Linked DNA regions of Homo sapiens: regions 1, 3, 4, 5, 6 and 7 are each linked to region 2. The links are contacts of gene promoters, found by promoter capture Hi-C in human tissues and cell types (Jung and others, 2019). All regions are on one chromosome and are shown on one strand. Each heading gives the region's core, a stretch centred on a gene start or on the middle of the fragment in contact. The rest is flanking DNA. Distances are from core to core; before and after follow the strand shown. Region 1 holds the start of TIGD3 (tigger transposable element derived 3). Region 2 holds the start of SIPA1 (signal-induced proliferation-associated 1). Region 3 overlaps PACS1 (phosphofurin acidic cluster sorting protein 1). Region 4 holds the start of FOSL1 (FOS like 1, AP-1 transcription factor subunit). Region 5 has its middle 10 kb from the start of DRAP1. Region 6 overlaps POLA2 (DNA polymerase alpha 2, accessory subunit). Region 7 overlaps GAL3ST3 (galactose-3-O-sulfotransferase 3).

The links. Contacts are between HindIII fragments. The study calls those that stand out against the background at their distance.
Region 1: the fragment with the promoter of TIGD3 here is called in contact with the fragment with the promoter of SIPA1 in region 2 in 1 of the 25 tissues and cell types used here (spleen).
Region 3: a contact is called between a fragment that was not itself captured here and the fragment with the promoter of SIPA1 in region 2, in 2 of the 25 tissues and cell types used here (dorsolateral prefrontal cortex and spleen).
Region 4: the fragment with the promoter of FOSL1 here is called in contact with the fragment with the promoter of SIPA1 in region 2 in 4 of the 25 tissues and cell types used here (dorsolateral prefrontal cortex, lymphoblastoid cells, spleen and 1 more).
Region 5: a contact is called between a fragment that was not itself captured here and the fragment with the promoter of SIPA1 in region 2, in 4 of the 25 tissues and cell types used here (bladder, dorsolateral prefrontal cortex, lymphoblastoid cells and 1 more).
Region 6: a contact is called between a fragment that was not itself captured here and the fragment with the promoter of SIPA1 in region 2, in 4 of the 25 tissues and cell types used here (bladder, dorsolateral prefrontal cortex, lymphoblastoid cells and 1 more).
Region 7: a fragment that was not itself captured here is called in contact with the fragment with the promoter of SIPA1 in region 2 in 2 of the 25 tissues and cell types used here (dorsolateral prefrontal cortex and lymphoblastoid cells).

The regions. Positions count from the first base shown.
Region 1 is chr11:65,353,472-65,356,868 of GRCh38, forward strand. It overlaps TIGD3 (tigger transposable element derived 3), which reads left to right and starts at 1,280. Exons shown (of 2, transcript NM_145719.3): 1 at 1,280-1,486; 2 at 2,322-3,397. The coding sequence starts at 2,338. It overlaps DPF2 (double PHD fingers 2), which reads left to right. Exons shown (of 11, transcript NM_006268.5): 11 at 1-791. RefSeq lists silencers at 1,008-1,067, 1,158-1,477, 1,498-1,557, 1,568-1,737, 1,798-1,987. The HindIII fragment of the contact is 4,951 bases long and covers 1-3,397 here.
Region 2 is chr11:65,636,851-65,640,507 of GRCh38, forward strand. SIPA1 (signal-induced proliferation-associated 1) reads left to right here and starts at 1,251. Exons shown (of 16, transcript NM_006747.4): 1 at 1,251-1,332. It overlaps PCNX3 (pecanex 3), which reads left to right. Exons shown (of 35, transcript NM_032223.4): 35 at 1-589. The coding sequence ends at 128. RefSeq lists enhancers at 72-862, 1,814-1,883 and a silencer at 1,094-1,463. The HindIII fragment of the contact is 7,218 bases long and covers 1-3,657 here.
Region 3 is chr11:66,080,517-66,084,177 of GRCh38, forward strand. All of the region lies in intron 1 of PACS1 (phosphofurin acidic cluster sorting protein 1), which reads left to right. Among named protein-coding and RNA genes, the nearest start is that of PACS1, 12 kb to the left of the region's middle. The HindIII fragment of the contact is 4,404 bases long and covers 100-3,661 here.
Region 4 is chr11:65,898,597-65,902,144 of GRCh38, forward strand. It overlaps FOSL1 (FOS like 1, AP-1 transcription factor subunit), which reads right to left and starts at 1,792. Exons shown (of 4, transcript NM_005438.5): 1 at 1,645-1,792. The coding sequence starts at 1,743. RefSeq lists silencers at 663-890, 856-975, 1,584-2,183. The HindIII fragment of the contact is 4,995 bases long and covers 1-2,614 here.
Region 5 is chr11:65,927,649-65,931,146 of GRCh38, forward strand. No RefSeq gene overlaps it. Among named protein-coding and RNA genes, the nearest start is that of DRAP1, 10 kb to the left of the region's middle. RefSeq lists a cis regulatory region at 224-789 and enhancers at 326-755, 470-764. The HindIII fragment of the contact is 6,362 bases long and covers 1-3,498 here.
Region 6 is chr11:65,279,049-65,282,857 of GRCh38, forward strand. POLA2 (DNA polymerase alpha 2, accessory subunit) reads left to right here. Exons shown (of 18, transcript NM_002689.4): 7 at 490-578; 8 at 1,944-2,099; 9 at 2,622-2,684; 10 at 3,431-3,473. Among named protein-coding and RNA genes, the nearest start is that of POLA2, 19 kb to the left of the region's middle. RefSeq lists an enhancer at 222-1,421. The HindIII fragment of the contact is 6,666 bases long and covers 1-3,809 here.
Region 7 is chr11:66,041,380-66,045,193 of GRCh38, forward strand. GAL3ST3 (galactose-3-O-sulfotransferase 3) reads right to left here. Exons shown (of 3, transcript NM_033036.3): 3 at 1-2,298. The coding sequence ends at 1,128. Among named protein-coding and RNA genes, the nearest start is that of GAL3ST3, 5.9 kb to the right of the region's middle. The HindIII fragment of the contact is 5,576 bases long and covers 1-3,814 here.

The DNA of each region.
Region 1 (3,397 bases), core at 30-2,529, 280 kb before region 2:
GCCTGCAGCGCTCCCAGGCCAGAGCAAGTGCTCTAGGATCTGAACTGCCCGCAGTGCAGCCCTGCAGCCTTTCCCAGGGCACGTTGATGTGCACACAGTTTCCCTGAAGGCAAAGTGAACATGTGGAGAGCTTACGTGGCAGCGCGTATGTCTTCAGTGTGTGTTTTAGAAGTCCAACTGTTGTTTTTATGTTTTTAAAGGAAAGATTTGAATCAAGCAGTTATGGGCCCCCTGAAGTATCCTTTTTTCTAGAACATTCTGAAAGTCATCCTTGCCTATGGGAAGCCTAGGCCGGCCTGCACTGTTATGTTCAATAAATAAGCAGGGTGCTCTGGGCTGGGGATTGTGTGAGGAGCAGAGCGCAGCCCGTCCTCATGCTTTTCCACTGAAGTAGGCCAGGCAGAGAGGGAGTACAGCAATGGATGCGCTTTGGCAGCTGAGTAGTCCGAGAGCCAGAAAAGAAATGTGGAAAATAAGAACGCTGTAGCAGGCCTAGGTGAGGAAATTTAGGAAGGGTTTGCGGGAGGTAGGATTTGAGATGGGTCTTGGAGAGTTGGACAGTGTCAGCCGGTAGGACGGGGGTGCGGACGGAAGCCTGTGAGGAAGGCAGAGGATGCGGAGCTGTGAGCGGAGGGAGCAGCGAGGCTGGAGAGCAGCTGGGCTGCGGGTCAAGACGTCTGCGTTTAATTCGGGACTGAAGGTTAGCAGGGAAGGGAACGATGCCAGATCTTGAGTTTAAGAACTTGAATCTTGTAAAGTACCAAATCTAATAAAATACTCGTCCTAAATCATTACTGGCCCAAGCATGCAGTGTTTCCGTGGCCGACAGACTCGAGCCAGCGCTGTCCATGGTAACCAGCTTTTGTGTGGCTTAAAGCTTGCATCCATTTTCTCCTTTCATCGTTTTCCCAAAACAATTCCGTGAGGGCTGTTAGCCCTGCTTGGTAGACGAAGAAGCCGATGCGGTCTAGGGTCACGGCCAGGGAGGCTTTGGGACGCCAAGTCAGCTCGGCGGTCACCACACCACCTACAGGGCTCGTCGGGCCCTCGGGGTCGGCGGCTGCTGGAGGCGCCCAGGGGAGTCCTGCTGGTTCCTGGCTCCGCCTCCCGCCCCTCCGCGCTAGAAGCCCCGCCCCCAGAGGGGCTCGACGAACCGCCACTTCCGCAACGTCCAATGAAACTTAGCCGGGGGAGGGACGGGGCGCCACTGAGGACCAATCTGCTTGGGCCGGGGCGGGGCTGCGGCGGGTGGGTGCAGAGGGGCCGCACCGCGGACTTCGCAGCCGGGAGAGAGCCCGGCGCGGGCGGCGCGCACGGGACTCTGCTGTGCGCGCGCCCGCCCGCCCGCCGTCCGCGCAGGCCCTCGGTCCGCTCTGCCCTCGGGGTCGTGGCGCCCATCCCTCCCCTGTTCTGCTGTCGCCGCCCGGACAGGGGCTCGGGAGCCGGGCTGGGGGCAGGGGCTGGAGCCGCGGGACCAGCGCCTGAGGTGGGTGCGGAGCGGGAGGCCGGGCGGGCGGGCGCCTGGGGCCGCCCCGCCGACATACTCCGGGTCGAGGGGGAGTGACCGGCCAGGGCACGGAGTCCGGCTGCCGGCCTGCCTGGGTCCGGGCGTTCGTTCCCGCGCCCTGGGACCCTCCCAGGCCACCACCCTCCCCGCGGGGACACCCCGCCCCTCCGCTGCCCGCAGCCTCCTCAGGCCTCCCGCCCTTTGTCGCTCGTGCACCTGCGCCCTCGGCCCTGCCCTCTCGCTCCCCTCAGGACTGACCGTCGCCTAGCCTCCCTCTCAGGACCCGGCACCAAATTAGCCTCGCTCCTTCAGACACCCTCTGTCCCCTTTGTCGTCTGTACACCTGTCACCTCAACTCTGTGTGCATCCACCCACCTCCCACCCCCCAGCGGCGTCATCTGAATCCAGCCCAAGCCGCCTCCCACTCCCTCCCGGGGGCTCCTCCCCCGCAGCCCCGTAGCCCCACACCTGCCCCCTCGGCCCCAGTCCCAGGCCCTCCCCCGTCCGTATGCCTTTGTTATCTCTGCAGCTGTCCCCTGCACTTTTCATCCTTCTTCCCGAGTGAGGCCAGACCCCAGCCCAGACTCCCCTGTCCTTCTGAGTGGAGAGACGCCCCCTCCCCAGCTCTGCCCTGGCATCCTGGGGACGGGGCCAGCCGGCTTCCACTCGGCCTAGCCACTTCCTCTTTCAGCGGGTCCAGTCTCACCCGGTGCCTGCGCAAGTCCTCATCTAATCTCTTTTCCCTCCTGCGCTCCTTTCCTAGCTCTTCCGGCCTCAGATTACTCTACCCGCTCAATCTTTCCTCCCCGCACAGGTGCCCCGGAGAGGCCATGGAGCTGAGCAGCAAGAAGAAGCTTCACGCCCTGTCCCTGGCCGAGAAGATCCAGGTGCTGGAACTCCTGGATGAGTCCAAGATGTCCCAGTCGGAGGTGGCCCGGCGCTTCCAGGTTTCCCAGCCCCAGATCTCGCGCATCTGCAAGAATAAGGAGAAGCTGCTGGCGGACTGGTGCAGCGGCACAGCCAACCGAGAGCGCAAGCGCAAGCGGGAGTCCAAGTACAGCGGGATCGACGAGGCTCTGCTCTGCTGGTACCACATTGCCCGGGCCAAGGCCTGGGACGTGACGGGGCCCATGCTGCTCCACAAAGCCAAGGAGCTGGCCGATATCATGGGCCAGGACTTCGTGCCCAGCATCGGCTGGCTGGTCCGCTGGAAACGCCGAAACAACGTCGGCTTTGGGGCCCGCCATGTTCTTGCGCCTTCATTCCCCCCTGAGCCACCTCCCCCGGGGCTCACATCCCAGGCTCAGCTGCCTCTTTCCCTAAAAGACTTCTCTCCAGAGGACGTGTTTGGCTGTGCTGAATTGCCCTTGCTGTATCGGGCAGTGCCCGGCAGCTTTGGTGCATGTGATCAAGTACAGGTGCTGCTGTGTGCCAACAGCAGGGGCACCGAGAAGCGGCGGGTACTGCTGGGTGGGCTCCAGGCTGCCCCGAGATGCTTCTTTGGGATCCGCAGTGAGGCTCTGCCTGCCTCCTACCACCCGGACCTGGGCATCCCCTGGTTAGAGTGGTTGGCACAGTTTGACCGGGACATGGGACAGCAGGGCCGACAGGTGGCTTTGCTGCTGGCTGCCCGAGTGGTGGAGGAGCTGGCAGGCCTGCCTGGGCTCTACCACGTGAAGCTCTTGCCTCTGGCCGCCTCTAGCACCACGCCTCCCCTGCCCAGCTCAGTGGTCCGGGCCTTTAAGGCCCATTACCGACACCGGCTGTTGGGCAAACTGGCTGCCATCCAAAGCGAGAGGGATGGCACCTCGCTGGCCGAGGCCGGGGCAGGCATCACCGTGCTGGACGCCCTGCACGTGGCGTCTGCCGCCTGGGCCAAGGTGCCTCCTC
Region 2 (3,657 bases), core at 1-2,500:
ACATTCCTTGCTTGGACAGCAGTGCCCCTGAGAGTGGCACACCTATGGGTGCCCTGGGCGACTGGCCTGCCCCTATTGAGGAGCGTGAGAGCCCGGCAGCCCAGCCCCTGCTGGAACACCAGTACTGAGCTACCTGGCGCCCACTGGACCACCTCCTAGGATTCAGTAACGGACCTGCTCTGCTGCCTCTCTGCTGGACCACAGAACTGAGTGGCTTTGGCCTACATGTCTGAACCCTGACCTTTGGCTGCCTTGGCCAGAGTACCAAAACTGAGTGACCCAGACCTCTGACCTTGACCCCTGATCTCTCTCATCCCCAGTCCAGGGCCTGGGCTCCCCAGATGGAGGCAGTCAGCCTCCCAGCCAGGCCCTAAGAGCCAAACCATGGGCTGGTCCCACTTGGAGCCTGTGGCCAGGACCACCTCAGCCCCTGGGCCTGCACTGCCTGCAGGTGTGGCCCCCTTGGCCTGGACCTGGGGCCTGAATTGTGGGAAGGGTGGTTTCTTTCTTTCCTTTTTTTTCTTTTCTTTTTTTTTTTTTTTTTTGTGCTTCGGAGACATCAGAATTAATAACACTATTTTTGATTTTGGTTGGCAGTTTCTTTTTCTACCTGGGAATGGGTACATGATAGTACAGGCGGCTAAGTTGGGATGGACAAGCACGCAGAGGGGTGAAGGATGTGGGGCTGAAGTCTAGTAGAGATCAAGGGCAGACCAAGGTGGGGTTCAGGTAGAACCGGGTCCTCTTCACCGCATGGCTGCTCCCTTTTCAAGCCTTTATCTGAAGGGTATTGTCTGCCATTTCCCACCATATGGTCAGACTTCCAGGTCTGGTGGCTCCTACATTTATCAGGCTTGTTCTTGGCCAAAGCCTTTCTCTGCACCTCAGCTGCTCCAGGGCGTAAAGAGATGACACCTATCTAAGGTGTTTTTAGAATAAATGAGAGCGCGCTAGTGGAATGGTTGCCCAGGGCCCAGTGCTTAGCAAGTGCTCCATAAAATAGTGGCAGACTCTTGAGCACCTGCTGGCCGGGAGCTGGACGCTAGGTGGCCTCCGCTAGCCCTCCCGGTTGGTCTGGAAGGCAGGCACAAGTTTCTCAGGAGAGGAAATGGCCTTAGAATGAGCACTGCTCGGTGCTGACCTCCGCCAGGCCTGGAATCCCCGCTGCTGCGCTTCCCGCCGCAGACAGCTCCCGGCCGGCCCCGCCTCCCGGCATGGCCCCGCCTCCCAGCATGGCCCCGCCCCCAGGCGGAGCCGGCGCCGGGAGCGGTAGCGGGAGAGCGGCAGCGGGACCCCAGCGCGGGCGGCGGCGGCTGGGCGGGAGCCCCAGAGGTACTGGCGGGAGCAGGGGACGGGAGGCACTACTGTCGGGCCCGACAGGGGAGAGGTGGCCTAGCCGTGGGCCCGGGTGATGTGTATGGGAGTGGGGTCCTCGCCACGTTCGCCGCCAGCACCCTCCCAACTTCCCTCCGGGCTCCAGCTCAGTCCCGAGTCAATATGTCCAGCCCCCTGTCTCTGACCAGCCGTTCCTACTCTCTCTGTGTGACGGCTTAGCCTGGCCAGCCAGCCGGTGAGTGGAAGCGGCGGCTCCTGACTCCTGGTGGCGGCACTGTGACCCCCTCCCCCTCAACACTGCAAGTGTGTGCGGGGCTCCCCCTTATTCTGAGGCTCCTCTTCTTCTTAGGCGGCCTCCACCCCAGTCCCTGGCCTGGCCTGGGAGGAAACATCTGTCGCGCCCCCTGGCAGCCGAAATGGGGTCATGACCTCCAGATGTGCTGGGAAGTGGCCAGCTCCTCCTCCTGGGGCAGCCAGGCCTTCCGGATCTGTGGGGGCGGGGCCGGCCCTTTCCCCCCACCCCTAGTGACACAGGCCCGGAGGAATGTCCTAGCCTCAATGGACCCTGTGTGAAGCTTCAGGGTGGGGGGCAGAGCCCGAGAACACCCCTCAAGGCAGCGCCAGAGCCTGGCACTGGGCCACAGCAAGAGGCAGCGCACAGGCTGGGTGCACACATGCACAGATCTCACTTCCAAGCGTGCAGAGCTCAGCCCACAAGGAGCGGGGCTTGCACAGACCCCCTCCCTCATGCCCTCCTACTCCTTCACACACTATAGCCCAGGCCCGAGCGCTGAATGTGCCCAGAGCTTGGCTCATGGAGCCAGGGGCTACACCCGTCACACACACACATAGCTAGCGACACTCACCTCATTCTTCTCAGTCTCTCAGCAGCCTTGGGAGGGGACAGAAATAATTAAACCCAATTTTTTTCTTTGTTTTTTTGGAGACAGTCTCACTCTGTCCCGCAGGCTGGAGTTCAGTGGCGCGATCTCGGCTCACTGCAACCTCTGCCTCCCAGGTTTAAGCGATTCTCCTGCCTCAGCCTCCTGAGTGGCTGGGACTACAGGTGCGCACCACCACACCCGGCTAATTTTTATGTTTTTAGTAGAGACAGGGTTTCACCATGTTAGCTAGGCTGGTCTTGAACTCCTGACCTCAGGTGATCCCCCCGCCTTGGCCTCCCAAAGTGCTGGGATTACAGGCCACAGCCACCGCACCCGGCCAGTTAACCCCATTTTAGAGATGAGAAAACAGAGGCTCAAGGTCAGCATGGGAGTTTATTCAGGAGAAATCAAGGTAGAAGCACCTGGGCTGGGGAGCCGACTCTTGCTTGGTTCTGGAGGCCCCAGACGAAGGGTGTGTGGAGCCCCTCCTCCACCCCCCTCCGGCCCAGCCCCGCATGATGTTGCTGGATGCTGCATGAAGACCCACCATTAGATGCCTGTACCCCCAGTGGAGGTTCCCCAGCTCCCTGTCCTCACTGCCTACTCCATCCAGGGCTTGCCTGGGTGTGGCTTCCCTCAAGTTCTCACACCACCATTTGCACCTGCCTCTGGCGTCACGTTTCCGCACTTAGCAGGTCCCTGGGGCTTTGGGTGTCTCAATCTTGCATCCTGTGAGACCTTGAACCTCAGCCCAACACCCACCCCCCAAAACCTACGCACACAGACAGCAGTGGGCAGGTGCAGCCCTGCTTAGGGCCTGGAGATGGGCAGACCCAGGCTCACATCCTAGCTCTGACACGGAATTGCTTCAGGCAAGAGCATCTCCTCTGGACCTCATCTGACCATCTGTCACATGGGGTTCAGACCTCCCTGTCTGCATCAGTGAGACCAGGTAGGCAGAGGTCCCTATGGGTCCCTGTCATTGTGACTCCTCTTGCCCCCAAGCCTGGGCACAGTAGCCTGCAAGAAGGTGAGTTGGCCTGTCCTTCAGGGCAGGGTGACTGGGGTCCCATGACAGCTGCTGTGACCCCAGCACCTTCCTCAGGATGTGGGGGCCTGGCAGAGGGCTGGGCCCACAGTTGGGGCTACTTCCTGTGCTGAAGGAAGTCCTCTTGCCATTCCTGCTGCCCTGCCGCTGCCTCCCTGGGAACCCATGTGTCCTTGTGGTATTGAGGCCTTGAGGTCCAGGGCACTGAGATCAGACCTCTCTGGGTGATCAGCTCTCCAGGGACCCTGAAGGAAGTGGGAGGGGCAAGGAGGAAGGTCTCTGGGGACAGGACGTCCTCCCTTTGTTAAGTGGGCAGGACCCAGACACCAGTGGCCCCTGGGTTTCCCGTCCCAGCCAATACAAGTCATCTGTCCGGTTGGGCTAGGTCCT
Region 3 (3,661 bases), core at 1,052-3,551, 440 kb after region 2:
GTGTGCCACAAAACTGCCAGAGCCAGGTGCTACGATCCCTTTTCTCAGAAGGGAAAATTGAGGCCCTGTGAGGTGAAGGCATTTTTTTAAGACTACACAGTTTAAAAGTGGGCGGGGCTGGAATTTGTCTCATGACTCATGATTGCCAGACACCAGAGCCGTTTCTGTGTTTAAACTTGGTCCCCCAAGCCCTGTCTGGTTCTCATAGCTGACAAATAATATTTAATGCCTTATTCTTTGCCAGCTGGAATTACAAAACACTGCTCAATTTCCATCATAGACAGCGAGAGGCTGTGTGGTATAGTGGCTGTGAGTGTGGGTTCTGGAGCCAGTCAGGTCAGATTTTACTATTTGAGTGACTCTGGACAAGTTTTTAACCTCTATAATGCTTCAACTTTTCTCATCTGTAAATGGGCATAATAATTGTCCCTGCTGAGTGTGGTGGCTCATACTTATAACCCCAGCAATTTGGGAGGCTGAGGTGGAAGGATTGCTTGAGCCCAGGAGTTCGAGACCAGCCTGGGCAACATAGGGAGACCCCGTCTGTACAAAAAATAGAAAAAAAAATTAGCTGGGCTTGGTGGCACACGCCTGTGGTCCCAGCTACTTGGGAGGCTGAGGCTGGAGGATTGTGTGAGCTCAGGAAGTCAAGAATTCAGTGAGCTGTGTTCGCACTACTGCACTCCAGTCTGAGCGACAGATCAAGACCCTGTCTCAAAAAAAAAGAAAAAAGAAAGAAAGAAAAGAAAAGTCCCTGTCTCACAGGATTATCATCAGAATTAAATAAGGTTAATTTTGTTATTAACACATGTTAATCGTGTGTGTGGCAACATAGAAAGCACTTAATATCAGCTATTACTGTTGCTGTTTTTCTTGTCAACCTAATTTCTCCGTCTTCCCTGCCCCCCCCAACCAAAACAAAACAAACAAAACAAACAAAACAAACATGCTTTCTTTCTAGAATTAGGGTAATATTCAGATTTCCTCGGTGGGACCATCACAAGGTCTTGGGTTCACCTGAGGCACAGATCCTGCCAAACCCCAAGCTTATTAGACTACAAAGTCAAAACAAAATATTTTGGTTCTCTGAAGCAGTGGCTGGGTCGGGATCCTGTTTCTACATCCTGCCAGCTTATATGAACGGAAGAGATGGTACAGGCCCCGCCTGCAAACCACAGCTTTGTTTTGAGCCAGCTTGACTTGACAGCTTCCCTGTTTTACCTGCTGACTTCTTTAGCCCTGGTTTGGCAGCAGAAGAGCAACTGAACCGGTTTACAGCTTGCCATTTGTCACCGGTGAAAACTGAGCAACTCCTAGGAAAATGAGGGTTTAAATGTAGTTAATTTTTTTTTCTCTTGTCTTTTTAAGTTTTCCTTTTTGTGTCTCAAGCCATAGAAAAACTACATTCTACTTTTACAGGAGAAACCTGATAATACATTTGTGGTCTCTCCTGAAACATGTAGATCTTTGGGTGTATGTTAATTTTCACCTTTAATAAGCATCAGGACTTTATTTTTCCATTTTGGTTGGAAATCTACAATTATATTTACTTGTTTCTGGTTCTTCTTTAAGAATGTATAAAACACAGATTAACATTTCCTTGAATCTGGATCTTAATGATGAATGGATTCTCATGGTAAACATCAGGGCTTAATGAAGAGTGTAGACTGGTACATGGGGCACAACTGCTTTCTTTAGTTTTTTGGTTTTGTTTGTTTGTTTGTTTTTGAGACAGTCTTACTCTGTCCCACAGGCTGGAGTGCAGTGGTACAATCATAGCTCACTGCAGCCTCGAATTCCTGGACTCAAGTGATCCTCTAACCTCAGTCTTCCAAGTAAAGGTCCACATCACCATACCCGGCTAATTTTTAAATTATTTATAGAGATGGGGTTTTGCCATGTTGCCCTGGCCTCAAGTGATCCTCTCACCTCAGCTTCGCAAAGTATTGGGATTACAGGTGTGAGCCACTATGTCTGGCCACCTTAAAAAAAAACAAACAAAAAAACACCTCATTTGTTATGAAGATAGATAAAATGTTTGTTTGTAAAATGTTTGCGCATCAGGCCGGGCGCTGTGGCTCACGCCTGTAATCCCAGCACTTTGGGAGGCCGAGGTGGGTGGATTACCTGAGGTCAGGAGTTACCTGGCCAACATGGTGAAACTCCATCTTTACTAAAAATACAAAAAAATTAGCCGGGCGTGTGGCGGTCGCCTGTAATCTCAGCTACTTGGGAGGCTGAGACAGGAGAATCGCTTGAACCCGAGAGGCAGAGGTTGCAGTGAGCCAAGATCATGCCATTGCACTCCAGCCTGGGCAGCAAGAGCAAAACTCTGTTTCAAAAAATATAAAATAAAATGTCTGAGCATCTATGTTCATAGAAATCATGACCTTCACATCTTTGAGGAGTGTCAGTGAAACTATGAATATGATGGTATAATATTTATACTGCAGCAGCTCTCATATCAGCCACCTTTTACATTGTCTTCACAAGCAGGTTTTTGTTTGGTACTTTAAATCACAGGCGATGGAATGGGGCAGTGTAATATGCCTTAAGTCTATTGTTTATGAAATTATGTCCTCAGAGTTAAAATATGTAGAAAGTAGTTGACAGCATTCTGTCATCTCTCCCATGCACTGCTTTTGCTGTGGATGAAAATGAATAAGCAACTCTGGAAACCAAGGTCCTCTGGGAACATAAAAACTCCTGTGGCTATTAATGGATTTAATTGTATTTCCTCTCTGCCACCAAGATATGCAATAAATTGTTTATGCCCTTGCCGTTAGTGGGGAGAATTGTTCATTAAACGCATGTAATGTCATTATTGCTTTGTTTTTATTACTTGTAGGTAGTCCTATCTCTCCTTTTAAAAAAAGTATAAAAAGAATGGCCGTAATTATTAAACACTGGCCATTAATCCCTTTGGTTGACTTTTTCCTCCATGGAGAAAAAGGAAAGTATCATCTCACTGGGGAAGCAAGCTTGGGCTGGAAATGGGTCATGGTCTCCCAAATCTAAGATCTGGCAGAAGGTTGGTTTTGTATGCTTTGGACTTGGGCCAAGTGATATGTTTACTTAGGCTCCAGAAGGGCCTGGTTCTAAGGCAGCCACACTGATAAATGAATGCCTTGTATCAAGTGTGGAGAGGCTTCATTATATTTAAATCCACTTAAGAGAACAGCTATAGAAGAATGACTGTTTAGGACTGTGGCTCTGTTTTCTTGTTTGTCATTTAGATATTTCTGCCAATTATAATAAATGTGGAGGAAAAAAAAAGCCAGCAAATTGCTATAGTCTCTTTAAAACCATGTGCCAGAAATGCTTTGACATTAAAGTTTGATTTCTCACTTGGCTTTACCCCACCATGTGGGTTTGGATAAGTCTTTGTAACTCTTCCTGCACATACCTTTACTGTTTCCTCATTTAGTTGAAAGATACTTATTGAGCACACATTACAGACCAGTCACTGCTTGGATACTGAGGAGAGAGCAGTGAACAAAACAGACAGAAATTCCAGCTCTTGCGGAGCTTACCTTCTGGGGACAGGGTGGGCAGCAGGCAGTAGTGAGTGAGTGAGCAAATATTAGGGTGTGTTGGACGGGAAGAATAAAGCTGGATGGGGATAAGTGGGCAGAGGAAAGAGGTCACGGTTTTAAACAAG
Region 4 (3,548 bases), core at 542-3,041, 260 kb after region 2:
GAGGATTACAGGATTTCACTGATGTTAAGAAGTACCCTTTAATAGCTCTGAAATCATAGTTTAATTGGCAATTTAAAAAATTTTAGTGGACTAGGCATGGTGGCTCATACCCAGCACTTTGGGAGGCTGAGGTAGAAGGATCACTTGAGCTCAGGAGTTTGAGGTCACACCGGGCAACACAGTGAGACTTCATTTCTACAAAAAAATTAAAAAATTAGTTGGGTGTGGTGGTGCGTGCCTGTGGCCAGGTCGCTTCCCAGCTAGGATCTCAGTAGGATTGCTTGAGCCCAGGAGGCTGAGGCTGCAGTGAGCTGTGATTGCACCACTGCTCTATAGTCTGGGCAACAGAGGGAGACCCTGTCTCAGAAAAAAAAAAAAAAAGAAAAGAAAGAGAAGGAAAGAAAATTAGTGGCATAAAGTTATAGTGGGTTTTTTTTTCAATCGATGAGGTCTTCGATTCCGTGAAATATGGTAAATGATGTAGCAAGCGCCCAGCACAACGTCCCTGTTCCCATTCTATCAGCCAGCTATCTGAGGAGTGGGTTGGGATGGGGCTCAGTGTTCTGGGAGAAGTGGGTTCTAGCTCTGCCGCTGGGCCCTGGGTGTGGGCGCCCAATCGTCCGGGAAGCGCCCACAAGCCCAGGCAAGTCCCGACAGCGGTAGCCCGAGCCCAAGCGCTGCGGGCCCGGCGTCCCAGTGACCCCAGTTCCGGGTCCGAGGCACCGCCGGCGGCATCTCCCACTCCCGGGCCCGGGCCGCTCCAGGCCAGGAAGGGAGGGACGCCCCGGGTGACTCAGCCGCCGTGACTCGGCCGCCGTGACTCGGCGGAACGGACGCCCCTCCTTCCCTCCCCTGTCGACACGTGCTCGCAGCCCCTCGACAGGAAATGGGCACCTGCAGCCTCCCGGGTGCCCCCCGGCGGGCAGCGGGCGCCGTTAGGGGCTGAGAGTGGGGTCGCGAGAGTCGCCCGCAGCCTGACCCCGCGCACGTCCCGGAACCTCGAGGTCTCTATTCGCCGCATTCGGCAAAGGGATCGAGGGCCGGTCTCCGGGGACCTGGCAGGTTCCACTGCCCGGACCCCCCTGGACTCCCCAGGCCGAGAAACGATAGGGACTTGGCGACGGAGGGGCGAAGGACAGACAGACGGACGGACACGCGGAGGGTCGCAGACCGGGCCGGGACTCCCACCCTGGCCCAGCTGCTCTCCCGACGGATCCCGCCTCCCTCCCGTGTGGGGACCCTCACCCCAGCCCAGACTCCAGATCCCAGGAATTCAGCCCGAAGCGGAGAGACCCTCCTAGCCTTCGAGGCGACCACCCTAGGCGCCCACGCCCCTTCTGAAGCAGGGTGGACGCAGAAGTCAGAGGTGGGCAGGAGGAGAGAAAGCGGGCACGGAGACGGAGGGACGGACGCGGACGGCGAGGGAGAAGGGGGCGGCTGGGAGAAGGGGAGTTCGCGGGTCTCTGCTGCCCGCTGCGCGGTGGGGGCAACTGGCCCCGGACGGCGAGGGGCAGGATCCTCGCCCCAGCCCCCAGCCCGGCCCCGACTCCGGTTCCCCGCTCCAGTCCCGGAGCGTGCGGGAGTTGACCCCGGCCTCCCACGCGCGGTCCTCCCGTGGGACCACCGGCGTCGGGCCCCACTCACCTGCTGGGCTGCCTGCGCTGCGGCCGGGGGCTGCGCGGGGCCGCCGTACCCGCCGCCGTTCCCGGAGCTCGGGCCGGGTTCCCCGAAGTCTCGGAACATGCCCGGGGCTGGCGGCTCTGCGGGGTACACGGCTGCTGGGTTCTGACTCACCCGCGCCGTGCGGAGTCTTTTCTTTTTATGAATGAAAAGTTCTCGGGCTGAACCACTGCGACCGCGGGGGGTGGGGGCGTTGCAGCGGCGCGGTCACCTCCAGGCTCCACCCCCGAGACGCGCCGCCTTGGCCCGTCGGTCCCGAACTTGGCGACGCCTCCCCAAGTCCGGCTGCAGCCTTTTCACCGGGATGGGCCCGGCTCGGCGTTCCCCGGAGGCTGCGGGCCCGCCCCCCTGACGTAGCTGCCCATACATGGTGTAACTTCCTCGCCGCGCCCAGGTGGAGCCCCGGGTTCCCCTGCGGACTGACGCACCTGCCAGAGCCCGCGCCCCGCCCCAGCCCTCTCGAGGCCTGGGCTAACCTCCGTTTCTGCTCCCACAAAATAGCACGAAAGAATCACATCTCTAGGAGCCACGCCAACCGCCACCCAAAGCTTCGTGGAGTGAGGTCTTTCCACTGGCCTTGTTTTAAGGCTTCGAGTATATGAAAAGTGAATAAATGACAAACCAGGGTTACAAAAATGGTGGCATATTTTATTTTACTTTATATTTTTGAGACCGGGTCTCTGTCACCCAGGCTGGAGTGCAGTGGCTCGATCTCGGCGCACTGCAGGCTCAACTTCCTGAGCTAAAGGGATTCTCCTGCCTCAGCGCCCCCTCCAAGTAAGTGGGACTACAGGCGCGCGTCACCACACCCAGGTAATTTTTGTGTTTTTTGTAGGGATTGGGTCTCGCCGTATTGCCCAGGCTGGGTGGTATATTTTAAATGTTTGCGATAAGGTAATGCTTTGAACTAACCCCACATAAAATGCAATATAATAGTATTACTCAGGATAATTTCAGGAGCTATAACGAGTTTTAATTCAGGGCCACTACAGGTGTCCTGAGGTCTGATAAACGCCATCTTCATTACGGTCAGTGCCTTTCGGAGGCTTGTGGCCACCAGACTTGTTTGGAGAGTATGTCAAAGGTGAGTGAATGTGAGGCAGGTATCATCCTCATCTCTGTTTTACAGATGGGGAAACTGAGGCTGGGAGATGCTGAAATGAATTGCTTGAAGTCGCTAAGTGAGTAGCTGGCACAGGTTGCCAAGTCACAGCCGTGGGCACTCCAAGCCCAGGCTCAGCCAAGATTTTCAAAGCCCTTACACCTTCACAGACACCTTGTCGCACATCCAGAATGTTAGTGCTGGGCACCATCCCAAAGCTTCTCTCTGATTACTTCCATCATAGATGAGGAAACTGAGGCCCAGATGGAGTACTGAGCTGTCAGTTGTCACACGACTACAGAAAGAGGGCTGGGGCCAGGTGTGGTGGCTCATGCTTGTAATCCTAGCACTTTGGAAGGCCAAGGCAGAAAGAACCATTTGAGACCCCATCTCTACAAAAAATTATAAAATTTTCTGGACATGGTGGTACGCCTGCCTTGTGGTCCCAGCTGTTCTGGAGGCTGAGGCGGGAGGATGGCTTAAGCCAGGGAGGTTGAGGCTGCGGTGAGCTGTGACTGCGCCACTGCAGTCCAGCCTGGGGGACAGAGCAAGACTCAAAGTAAATAGATCAAGAGAGGGCTGGGCTCTCCTGCTTCTCCATCGGTCCTTCCATTTCATCAGCTCTAGCTTTGCCCTCTGGGCTACTTTCCTTGGGAACACAGGCCAGAAGCCTGTGGGTGCACTCAGGACTTAGAGCCAGGAAGTCCAGATTGCCCCTGGGGTTCTAGTCCCAGAGCTACCATTTTCTGTCTGTGTGACACTGGGC
Region 5 (3,498 bases), core at 306-2,805, 290 kb after region 2:
AACCTGGGCAACAGGAACGAAACTCCATCTCAAACAAACAAACAAACAAACAAAAAAGAAAAGAAAAGGGAAGCTTTTCAGGGCCCTATGGCTGCATGGAGTGCCCCAAACTAAGGCGCATGTCTGCTTGATTCTATGCACCCTGTGTTGAAAAAACAGAAAAGACATTGTCAGAATGGGCCCAACCTCAGGGGACAGCATCACATAGGGCAGGGTAAAGCATGGCCCTGCAGGATTCATGGGATCATACATTGTCTTCATTCAGTCACTCAAGAAATATTTGCTGAGTACCTACTCTGTGCCGGGCCCTGCTCTGGGCTTGGGGAAGGTGAACTCAGAGAAAACACACAGAGCCTCTGCTCCCTAGCTCAGTCCAGTTGGGGGAAGGGGCAGCAGACTGATGGTAAACAAATAGGTACATTCACGCCTCTCCAGGGGTAGTGGGGAGAGGGGACCCCGAGGAGGCCAGCGTGTTGAAGCCGCAGCAAGCAAGTGGGTGGGCAGGGCCCTGGTTCCTCCAGGGGGGTGCGGCTGCCCTGTTTTTAGCCACAGATGCTCTTCCATTCCAGCCTGGTGCCCAGAGTCGGTTTCACTTTCCTCTTACCCGTTTTCTTAGAGTTTGGTTTCTGTTTTGTGGGTTCCCTGCCCCCCTTCCGCCTTTGTCTGGAGTTGCAGATTAGCCTAGTGGTTCTCAACCCTGGCTACATCTTAGAACCCTGGGGAGCTTTTTTTTCTTTTTTTCTTTTTTTTTTTTTTGAGACAGGGTCTCATTCTGTCTCCCAGACTGGAGTGAAGTGGCGCGATCTTGGCTCACTGCAACCTCTGCCTCCCAGGTTCAAGTGATTCTCCTTTCTGCCTCAGTCTCCCCAGTAGCTGGGGAGGCTACTCGCCACCACGCCTGGCAATTTTTTGTATTTTTAGTAGAGACAAGTTCTCACCATGTTGACCAGGCTGGTCTCAAACTCCTGACCTTAAGTGATCCACCCGCCTCGGCCTCCCAAAGTGCTGGGATTACAGGCCTGAGCCACTGTGCCCGGCCGACCCTGGGGAACTTTAAAATACCCATATCTGGGCCTGTCTTCAGTTAGATCAGAAGCCCTGAAGATGAGCCTTCCCAAACTCTGGTCTCGTCTTCTTAACTCGGTGAGAACAACGGTTGCCCTCCCAGTGCAGTGGTAGGAAAATCACCTATGCAATGTCAGGGCTCCTCCCCTTTATCTTCCGTTTTTCAGGGATCACAGCCCTGAGCTGCCCTTTGTCTAATATCTGAAAACACTTGTTTCCTGTGCTTTGTCCAGTTTCTTAGCTGTTTGTAGAAAAAGGGCAATTTCAGTTCACCTTACTTCCTCAAGGCCAGAACCTAGAGTCCCTCCTCATCCTTTGAACTCCCCAAGTCCTTCACCTGTCCCCTCTCCAAGTTTCTTCCCATGCTCTGGCTGGGATAACTGTGCTTGCAGGTTTCACCTCCACTTCTGGAAAGCGCCCCTCTTGGGGACACAGGGCCTGTCGGATTCACGTCTGTGTCTCCAGGATGTCTCACAGGGCCTGGCACGTGGTAGGTACGTGGTGGGCATGTTTTTGTGCATGGGTCTGCCCTGCCCTTCTTCCTTCAGGCCACCCCAAATCATATCCGTATCCCTAGAGAACTGACGCCCACCCCACTCCAACCAGGTGGCACCTCCAGGACCGCTGGTCAAGATACCCTCCCCACAGCCATTGGTCAGGGGTGGCCGTGAGACTCAAGACAGCACATGTGGCCGGGTGCAATCGCTCACGCCTGTAATCCCAGGACTTTGGAACGCTGAGGCAGGCAGATCACCTGGGATCAGGAGTTCAAGACAAGCCTGGCCAACATGGCAAAACCCCATCTCTACTAAAAATACAAAAATTAGCTGGATGTGGTGGTGGGTGCCTGTAATCCCAGCTACTCAGGAGGCTGAGGCTGCAGAATTGCGAGAACCTGGGCAGTGGAGGTTGTAGTGAGCCGAGATCGCACCACTGCACTCCAGCCTGGGCGATAGAGCAAGACTCCGTTTTTTAAATAAATTACCCAGTTCCAGGTTTTCTGTTATAAGCAACAGAGAATGGGTGAAGACATTTATTTTTATCTTTAATAATGTATTTAGGCCAATTGTATGCTAGAGAGACCTGACTACTACAAGACATCATTGTATGCTTGCCGAATAAATGAAATACCATTGATTAATTTGCAAACCACATTCCCAGTGCACCTGAGGTGGCTTCCAACAAGAACAAGGAAGGTAAAATTTAAAAAACAGAAATGGAGATTCAAGAATGTGGATGGGTGCAGTGGTATACACCCGTGCTACCAGTGGTGCACTCCCAGCTACTCTGGAGGCCCGAGGAGGGAGGATCACTTGAGACCAGGAATGTGAGTCCAGACTGGGCAACATAGCAAGATCTTATCTCTAAAAACAAAAAATTTTAGGCCGGGTGTGGTGGCTCATGCCTGTAATCCCAGCACTTTGGGAGGCTGAGGAGGGCGGATCACGAGGTCAAGAGATCGAGACCATCCTGACCAACATGGTGAAACCCTGTCTCTACTAAAAATACAAAAATTAGCTGGGTGTGGTGGTGCACGCCTGCAGCCCCAGGTACTCGGGAGGCTGAGGCAGCAGAATCTCTTGAACTCGGGAGATGGAGGTTGTAGTGAGCCAAGATCGTGCCACTGCACTCCAGCCTGGTGACAAAGCGAAACTCTATCTGAAAAAAAAAAAAAAAAAAAAAATTTAGGCCACATGGGATGGCTCACACCATAATCCCAGCACTTTGGGAGGCCAAGGCAGGAGGATCACTTGAGGCCAGGAGTTTGATACCAGCCTAGGCAACATAGTGAGACCCTGTCTCTAAAAAAATTATTAAAAAATTTTTTAAATAAAATAATAAAATATAATTAAAAGAGAAAATAAAGATCAGAAACAATAGCATACATATATAAATATGCAACCCATAAAGGCCTGTAAAAGTGCTTTATTAATTCAATATCAAATTTAGTTCTGAGCTTTCTGGCAGCCAAAGCAAAAAACTTTTTTTTTTTTTTCCGGAGAAAACTTCTTCAGTGGAAAGAAATTTTTTCCTAGACTTTAGCTGCAAAAGAACAGTTTCAGATGGGGCCTGCGGTGTGATGTGGTGAAGGCCAATCTCAGCCGCATTCGCACAGCCAAAGCCTGTAATAAGCCTCCCACAATGAGTCCTTGGAGAATGGGTCCAGGCGATTCAGTTGTTCTCATTTGGGCTCGCCTTGACCTCTCAGTGGCTCTTGTCATAGTTGGTCGCTTGCCTCCTCTTTGAAACACTTTCTTCACTTGGATGGGGGCCCTCACTCTCTTGGCAATCTTTTTTTTTTTTTGAGACGGAGTCTCGCACTCTCACCCAGGCTGGAGTGCAGTGGCGCCATCTCGGCTCACTACAAGCTCCGCCTCCCGGGTCCACACCATTCTCCTGCCTCAGCCTCCCGAGTAGCTGGGACTACAGGCG
Region 6 (3,809 bases), core at 1,310-3,809, 360 kb before region 2:
ATGTCCTCATGGAAGCCCTAGTAATGGAGGGACACGGGCAATACTATCAGTGATTGCCCCAAGTCACTTCACTTTGCTAAAACGCACATAACCATTCCCAGCAGCAAAAACTTGAACGATGTAAAGGAATTCAACTTAAAGATATTCATGGTTCCTTCGTTAGAAGCCTTCTTCAGGTTGGCCTTGACTTGCCTAAAACCTCAGTGAGGACTTGAGTAAAGGGCAGACTTGGAGATGGGGTGGGGTTCATGCTGATTCCCTGGAATTGTGCTATGGGGTCTCCTGTGGCCAGATGGAAGGCCAGATTCAGCAACCAAATATCGGAAAATTGGCAAAGGTTTTAGAAGGTTTAAACTGGCCAGATGTCCAGGCACCCTTCCTGCTTCTGTAAAATGACTGACTTTAATATTTTACAATGTGCTGTATTTTCTCTTCTTGGCAAGTGAAATGTCTTAAACATAATACTTTTTTCCACTTCTGGGATTGTAGTTCTGACCTGTAAGATAGAAGAACTTGGCAGCGAACTCAAGGAACATTACAAGATTGAAGCTTTCACTCCTTTGCTAGCCCCAGCACAGGTAAGAGTTGTTCTAATAGTTCTCACTAATTAATATTACGTTTTTAAATCGATGACCAAGAGGCATCCTTCTTGCTTCCTTTTTCACTTCTTGTCTGTGTTCTAGTTTGAACATCTGTCTTGGTTGAATTTGGGAAAATGGGCCCTTCTGAAGAAAGATTTGTAAGTGCTGTCTGGTTTTGTGGCCAGAGAGTGATTTTCTTCCCACTTGGATTAGAGTCTTGCACATAAGCAGAGACTCAAGGCCTTGTTTCCCTTGGTGGTGAGTCAGGTAGCTCCCCGGGGATTTCCCACAAATAGAAGCATTCACGTATCGAGATAAAAGGACAGCAGCGACGGTGGGGTTTTCAGAATCTTGTTCTCTGGACAATGACTCACAGTCTCTCCCCTGGTTTGGTCTCTTGTTATAGACAAACTGCTGCCAATAGTATCTTTATATCATAGTTTAATCTGGCATATATACCAGTGCTTTCTCTCTAGAATGTTTTCTAATCTAAGGGGAAATATATTCTAGAAGTTTCTTTAAAGTACCTTTGTCAATGTTTACATTCAAAGAATGATCAGTTGGGGAAGTGATGCAGAACTGTGTCATAGAAGGAAGTGTTAGAGGACTTGGAAGGAAGTAATTGAGGGAAGGCAGGGAGGCACAATCACTGGGAAAGATGAGACTTCCTCTGTTTTCTCCCAAGAGTGGGAACAGAACAGAGGAAGCCATGGAGACAGAGATTTTAGCTCAATTAATAAAGAACTTCCTGTTAAGAGGTTGTATGGTATGTGGCTAAGGATATGGCTCTAGAGCCAAATTTCTGGTTTCAAACCCAAGCTTCACCCACAGTTTGACCTTGACTAAATTATCTAACCTTTCTGTTGCTTGTTTTCCTCATCTGTAAAATGGATACAGTAATATCCACCCGATGGTTGTTGCAAGGATTAAATGAGTTAATACATATAAAATGCCTAAGAATACATTTTAGAACAGTGCATGGTATTTAGTAAGCTCAAGAAATGTTAGCTATTATTAAGTAGTTATAGCTGCCCAAAGATGCAGTGGGCTGCCCTGGGGTGGTGAGGACAGGGTGGGGTAGGCATCCAGGGGCAAGTTCCCCTACACTAGAGATGCTCACACTTAGGCAGCCTCCTAGGAAGGCTCAAGTGCTGGGTGGATGGGTGGACAAGATGCCCTTTCAGAGTTCTTCCATCCTGAGAGTCAGTGATGACGCGGTAGTCACCTCAGGGTCAAAGCAATGCCCTGCCAAGAAATGTATTTGTTGTTTGCAGTTTGTTTTGCTATTCACCCTATCGACTTCAGATTTTGAGCTCCTGCTCCAAAGACTGTCATTCTTATGCTGTGACCTTCCTTTGGTAGGAGCCTGTCACTCTGCTGGGCCAGATTGGCTGTGATAGCAACGGGAAGCTGAACAACAAGTCAGTGATTCTCGAGGGAGACCGGGAACATTCCTCGGGTGCTCAAATTCCAGTGGATTTATCTGAGCTTAAGGAATATTCTCTGTTTCCTGGACAGGTGAGATTGGAGGAGTTCCACCAGAATGCAGGCGCACTCTTTACCCCTGTAGTGTAGGTGCTGTGCCATGCGCAGCTGCTCCTCAGTTCCTGTCTCTGCTGCCATGGGGTGCAGCTGGAGCACATGCCCCAGAGCAGACACCACTGTTGGGATTCCTGTTTCCCCCATGCTCTGACCCAGGCTCTGGGACCTGACTGCGCAGCCTCAAATCCCAACTCCCCGCTCCATGAGGTGCATGACTGTGCACAAGGTACTTAACCATCTAAACTACAGTTTCTTCACTCACAAAATGGAAATAATAATTCTTACCTCATAGGATTGTTGTGAAAATTAGATCACTTATATAGAGCATAATTATTATTACTAATGCAACGCCCTTAATTCGTTTTCTACAAAAATGCCCTAAGTTTATGATTACAGAATGAGAGTAGTTGGACAATGCTTTTAACTGCCTCAAAATAATGTATTCCAGACCTCATTGATCTCCACTGCTTAGCAATCCTGTTTGTTTTTGTCTTTCAGGTTGTAATTATGGAAGGAATCAACACCACTGGTAGGAAACTTGTTGCCACCAAACTCTACGAGGTACACAGCAGTACCCCCACTTGCCTCTTGGTTTGCTTCAGACAAAGTATGTCTGGAAGCTGTCTGTTCTAGAAACTGGTCCTTTTTAGGAGCCCATTTATTTGTTAGTCAGTTCTCCATCTGTAAGTGGGAACCCACCCCTAGGCCAGGGGTCAGCAAACCCTTTCTATAAAGGGCCAGACAGTAACTCTTTTAGACTTTGTAGCTATATGGTCTCTGTCACAATGACTCAATTCTGCCTTTGTCTACAAAAGCAGCCATAGAGGACTCTTAAACAGATGACTGTGGCTGTGTTCCCATAAAACTTTATTTAAATAGTGGGCTGCAGCCAAATTTGGCCCAGAGGCCGAAAGGTTACCTATCCCTGCTCTAGGCAACAATCCTCCAGAGATTTTCGTAGAATGCCAGGAAAAGTAGCAAGAAACCATTCTCTCCCATCCTTGCCTAGAAGTACACTGATACTTTAGGCACCTGTTTTGCTCCCACTTGTTGCTGGGTATTTTATGACAATTGAGTAGTGACCTCCCATTACCTGGGTTTCTTTGCCCTCTGAGCAGTATAGAAAAATGGCAGGTCCCATCAGATCCAGGGAGCAAGACAGAGGCACATCCTTCCCCTGCCCTCTCGCTCCTCCCCACTGTCCTCCCATCACACACCTGCACCACCCCCAACCTGGTGCCCTCCCCTTTCCTTACCAAGGTGATGCCTGGCGCAAGACCTTACTTGAGCTTTTCCCCTGTTTTTAGGGTGTGCCACTTCCATTTTATCAGCCCACTGAAGAGGATGCAGGTGAGTTTCGGTTCAAATATTGTTTTGCCAACAATGAGGATGGTAGACATGAGTCCAGGAGTGCAGTTTCCCAAGCCCAAGAAAGCTGCAGAAGCTGCTGAAGAGCAATGTGACCAAGCAGTGAGGGCGCCACCATCATGAGTTCGTAGGTTTTTTGTCACAAGACCCCTGGTCTGAGCCCAGTGAGCGTTGGTCGTGCTGTCGCCTGAGTTCTGCCTACATGAAGCATGTTGTTTAAAGACTAATGTTTAACAGGTATTTTTGAAGGTTGCCTTGGAAAGGAAAAGATGTACGATTTCAAAAAGAATTTATTTACATGCAGCATGGGCAGATGCG
Region 7 (3,814 bases), core at 1,100-3,599, 410 kb after region 2:
TTCACCTGGAAGTGCTGGCTATCTTGCTGTGTTAAAGGAAACTGCAGAAAGGGACTGGTCTTCATCTGAGTCCAAGTTGTCTTCTTGTGAGGAAAGCAGGCCATTAGTGAAGTCAGTGATTCACAGGAGGAGGTCAAATTCTGAGTTAGGCAGCTCCTTATCTGAAAATGATCCTCCTTCCACCCAAAGAGGTGTTGTGCTCTAACCCCTCCAGTCCTTCCTCTTTGCTTACCTGTCTTGCTCCTGTTCCAATGTTTCCCCATAAGCTCCATGAAAATAAGGCCCTATCTATCTGGTTCACCTGTATCCCCAAGTTACAGAGATGATGCTCAGTAAATGTCGCAGAATTTTGTGAAAAAGAACGATGTGGAAAGTGAGTGGGGCTAAGGTGGCCAGTCTGTGTTGGGGGCCCAGTCGGTCAAGCGGTTGAGGAGGGTTGTAGGCCTATGCCAGGTGGCGGGGGACCTTGAGTCCAGGCCCCCATCCTCATGGGTCCAGCCACAGCTCCTCCTGGGCATCCGTTTCATCCTCAAATGTGGGGAATCCGGCTTCTATGACTGACATACAACTCGCACATTTTAAAGATGTTTTATTAAAAAAAAGAAAAACCAACCAAACAAAAATCCCAACCCAAGAACTCTTGGTTCTGGGAGACTGGGAGCAGCTTAGGTCTGTGGGGAGGGTAGAACCTGGAAGACAGAAAAGTATAGGGAGCCTCAAGCCCTGGGAGGGAGAGCAAGAGCAGCCTTTCCCTAGGGCTGAGCCTCTCTCCATGGGGCCTGGGCTTATCCACTTGGAAAAGACAGGTTGTGGGGGCTCAGCCCCCAGAAAAAGGCAGGGTGAGCAGTTCTGGACAGCCCTCAGGCCTCTTGTCAAAATCACCAACCAGCTGGGAAGGAGAGGGTGGCCCAGCGCTGGATCCAGCCTATCAGCGCCGTGCCCGAAGGCAAGGTTCAGCCCACGATCGGGAGCGGGGGCTCAGATAGGGAGGCGTACCCCAAAGTTCAGCGAGGGACTCAAGCCCCTTGAAAAGAAAGGGCTCTCATGGGGGCAGGACATGGAGGCAGCCCCTGGCTGGACTCCTGGGAGGGCAGGGCAGGACCCATACTCCTGGAGGCCTGCGGAGCTCAGGGACCTTGAGGGCCGCGAGGCAGCACTCGGATGGGCCGAGGCGGGGGATTGTCCAGGACGGGCTCGGGCCGAGCCCGCGCACCGCCCCGGCGCTTCTGCTTGCGCAACAGGTAGTTCGAGTACTGGACCTCGGGCATGGCCAGCTTGAGGCAGGCCTCGGTGGCCGGGCCGGCGCCGCCGCCGGGCAGGTCATAGCCCATAATGTCCACCTTGCGGCTGGGCTGCCACGGCTGCAGCTGCTTGGTGCGGATCTGCGCGGCAGGCCGCAGCAGTGGCTCGTCCCCGAAGCAGCGCCGCAGTAGGCGCTGGCGGGCCTCGCGCAGCTCGCGCGCCTCGCGCTCCACGCACGCGCGGCCCGCGCGCGCCACGTGGCGCCAGAAGGTGGCGTTGAAGTGGTCGTAGAGGCCGGCGTCCAGGGCGTTCCAGGTGCGCGCCGCCCGCGCCAGCGCCGCGGGGATGGCGGCCAGGCGCGAGCTGGCGGCGCGCGCGTTGAGCTTGGCGTAGAGCACGTCGTCCAGGTCCCAGGCCAGTAGGCGCCGCAGCAGCACTAGCGACTCGTCGAAGTACTCGGCGATCATGACGAGCGAGAAAACCTCCTCCACCTGGCGGATGAGGCCCGCCAGGTAGGCGGCGTCGTCGCGCGGGCTGCGCTCATTGTCGCCGCCCAGGTCGTAGGCCAGCGTGTTGTGTGCGAACATGGCGAAGTGCTCGCCAGCGCGGTAGTATGCCTCGGGCGCGCGCAGGAAGGCCTCGAGCGAGGCGTTGGGTACGCGCCGGAAGGCCGGGCAGTACTGGTTGTAGTAGCTGAAGAGCGACTCGAACATGGCGGCCGGCTCGCGCAGGATGGTGACATAGACGGTGCTGGGCGGCATGAGGCGCTCCAGCTCCGCACGGTCGAAGCGCAGGTGGCTGGCCAGCACGTGCGGCGGCCGCGTGGCCGGGTGCACGAAGTGCGCCGAGAAGTTGCGGGGGTAGCAGAACTGGTGCTCGCAGCTCGGGTGCGGCAGGGCCACCGTCAGGTTGTGGCGCTCGGCAAAGCGAAACAGGATGTTCTGCACCGTCGTGCCTGCCGTCTTGTGAGTCTTCAGGAAGGCCACAGTCATGTGCTTGGGGCGCGGCGGCGAGTTCCGCAGAGGAGGGCAGCTCAAGGGGAACAGCTTGGGGTACCTGCCAGGCCCAGGGAGTGTGCGGAGAGGAGGGTGTGAGGGGGCTGCCGCTTGACCCCTGCCCTTACCCAAGGACTGTGGGATGCCCCACAGCGCGGCCCCGCCTGGGCTGCACTCATGGAAAGGTCGAGGGCGGTGCTTGGTAGCCTCTAAGATGCCCTCTATGATCCCTGCTGCCCTCCTGGTATTCATGCCCTTGAGTATTCCCCTCACCTGAGTTAGGCTGGACTTATCATTGCATCTAAAGAAGAGAAGAGGGCAGAAATGATGGGATGTCACTTCTTAAATTTCATCATAGAAAGACTGTGGCTGGCTAGTATCTTGGTGTCTTTCACTCAATCTGGGATGACAGATGATGGGGGAAGCAAGCTGCCATATAGTGGGCAGCCCTATAGGGAGCTACCACTAAGTGGGAAAAGCCCACAAGGACCTAAGGCCCTCAGTCCACCAGCCGGCTTGAAGACCTGAAGCCTGTCAAAACCACGTGAGTGAGCTTGGAAGCTGATCCCTTCCAATCAAGCCTTCGGATGAGACTGCATCACCAGCAAACACCTTGGTTGCAACCCCATGAAAGACCTTGGTCCAGAAGTTCCCAGTAAGCCACACCTGGCTTCCTGACCCAAAATAACAGATGTTTGTGTTTTCAGCTGCTAAGCTTTAAGATAATTTGTTTATGTAGAAATAAATAAGGGACAAAGACCCCTGGAGATCTTTGAGGAATCCCACTTTGTATATGTAGAAACTGAGGGCCAAAAGGAGAACAATCACTTACACAAAGTCTGGAGACGACTCACATGGTCACTAAATCCTTTTGCTCTTTCTCATTTTTACTCTTTAACTGGCTCCTCACTTTGTAGATGGTTGGCACTGGGCTTTGCAGCAACCCATTGTTATGTTTCTCTTGAGGCTTCTAAAGCCTCATTAATTCAGTCATCAAATATTTTTTGGGTGTCCACTATGTGCCAGGTTAATGCTAGGTTCAAGAAATACAGTAATATACAAAAACAATCCTAGCCCTCGTGAAGCTTTCATTTCTGTTGCTTCATTCTTAAAACATGGGTGTTTGGGATTTCAAACCAAATTATCTGGCAAGGGGGGCTGGGCGCATTCACACCATTCTCAGGGGCAGACAGTGTAGAAAATGGGGACATGAAGTCTCCGAGAGGTGCAGGGATTTGTTGGGTTCACACAGTGAGTCAGGAGTAGGGTTGGGGTTCCCATGAATCACATGGTATCCTGTGTGAGGGTGACTGGCTGTGTCACACATATCATGTCTCACTTTATAGATGAGAAAACGGGGGCTCGGAGAAGTGAGGGGACTTGGCCTTGCCCAGCACTACGGAAGTTGTGAGAAGTTGTTTCCACTGGGGAAATGCTTAGCTGCATGCTGTGGGGAGTTGAGCTGGATTCGGATCTCAGCTAACTGATTCTGTAACTTTGAGCAAGTCACTCAGCCCTTTCATTGAAGAGCAGTCCCTGTCCAGGGAGGCTGTGTGGCCCTAAAGGGAAAGCACTTT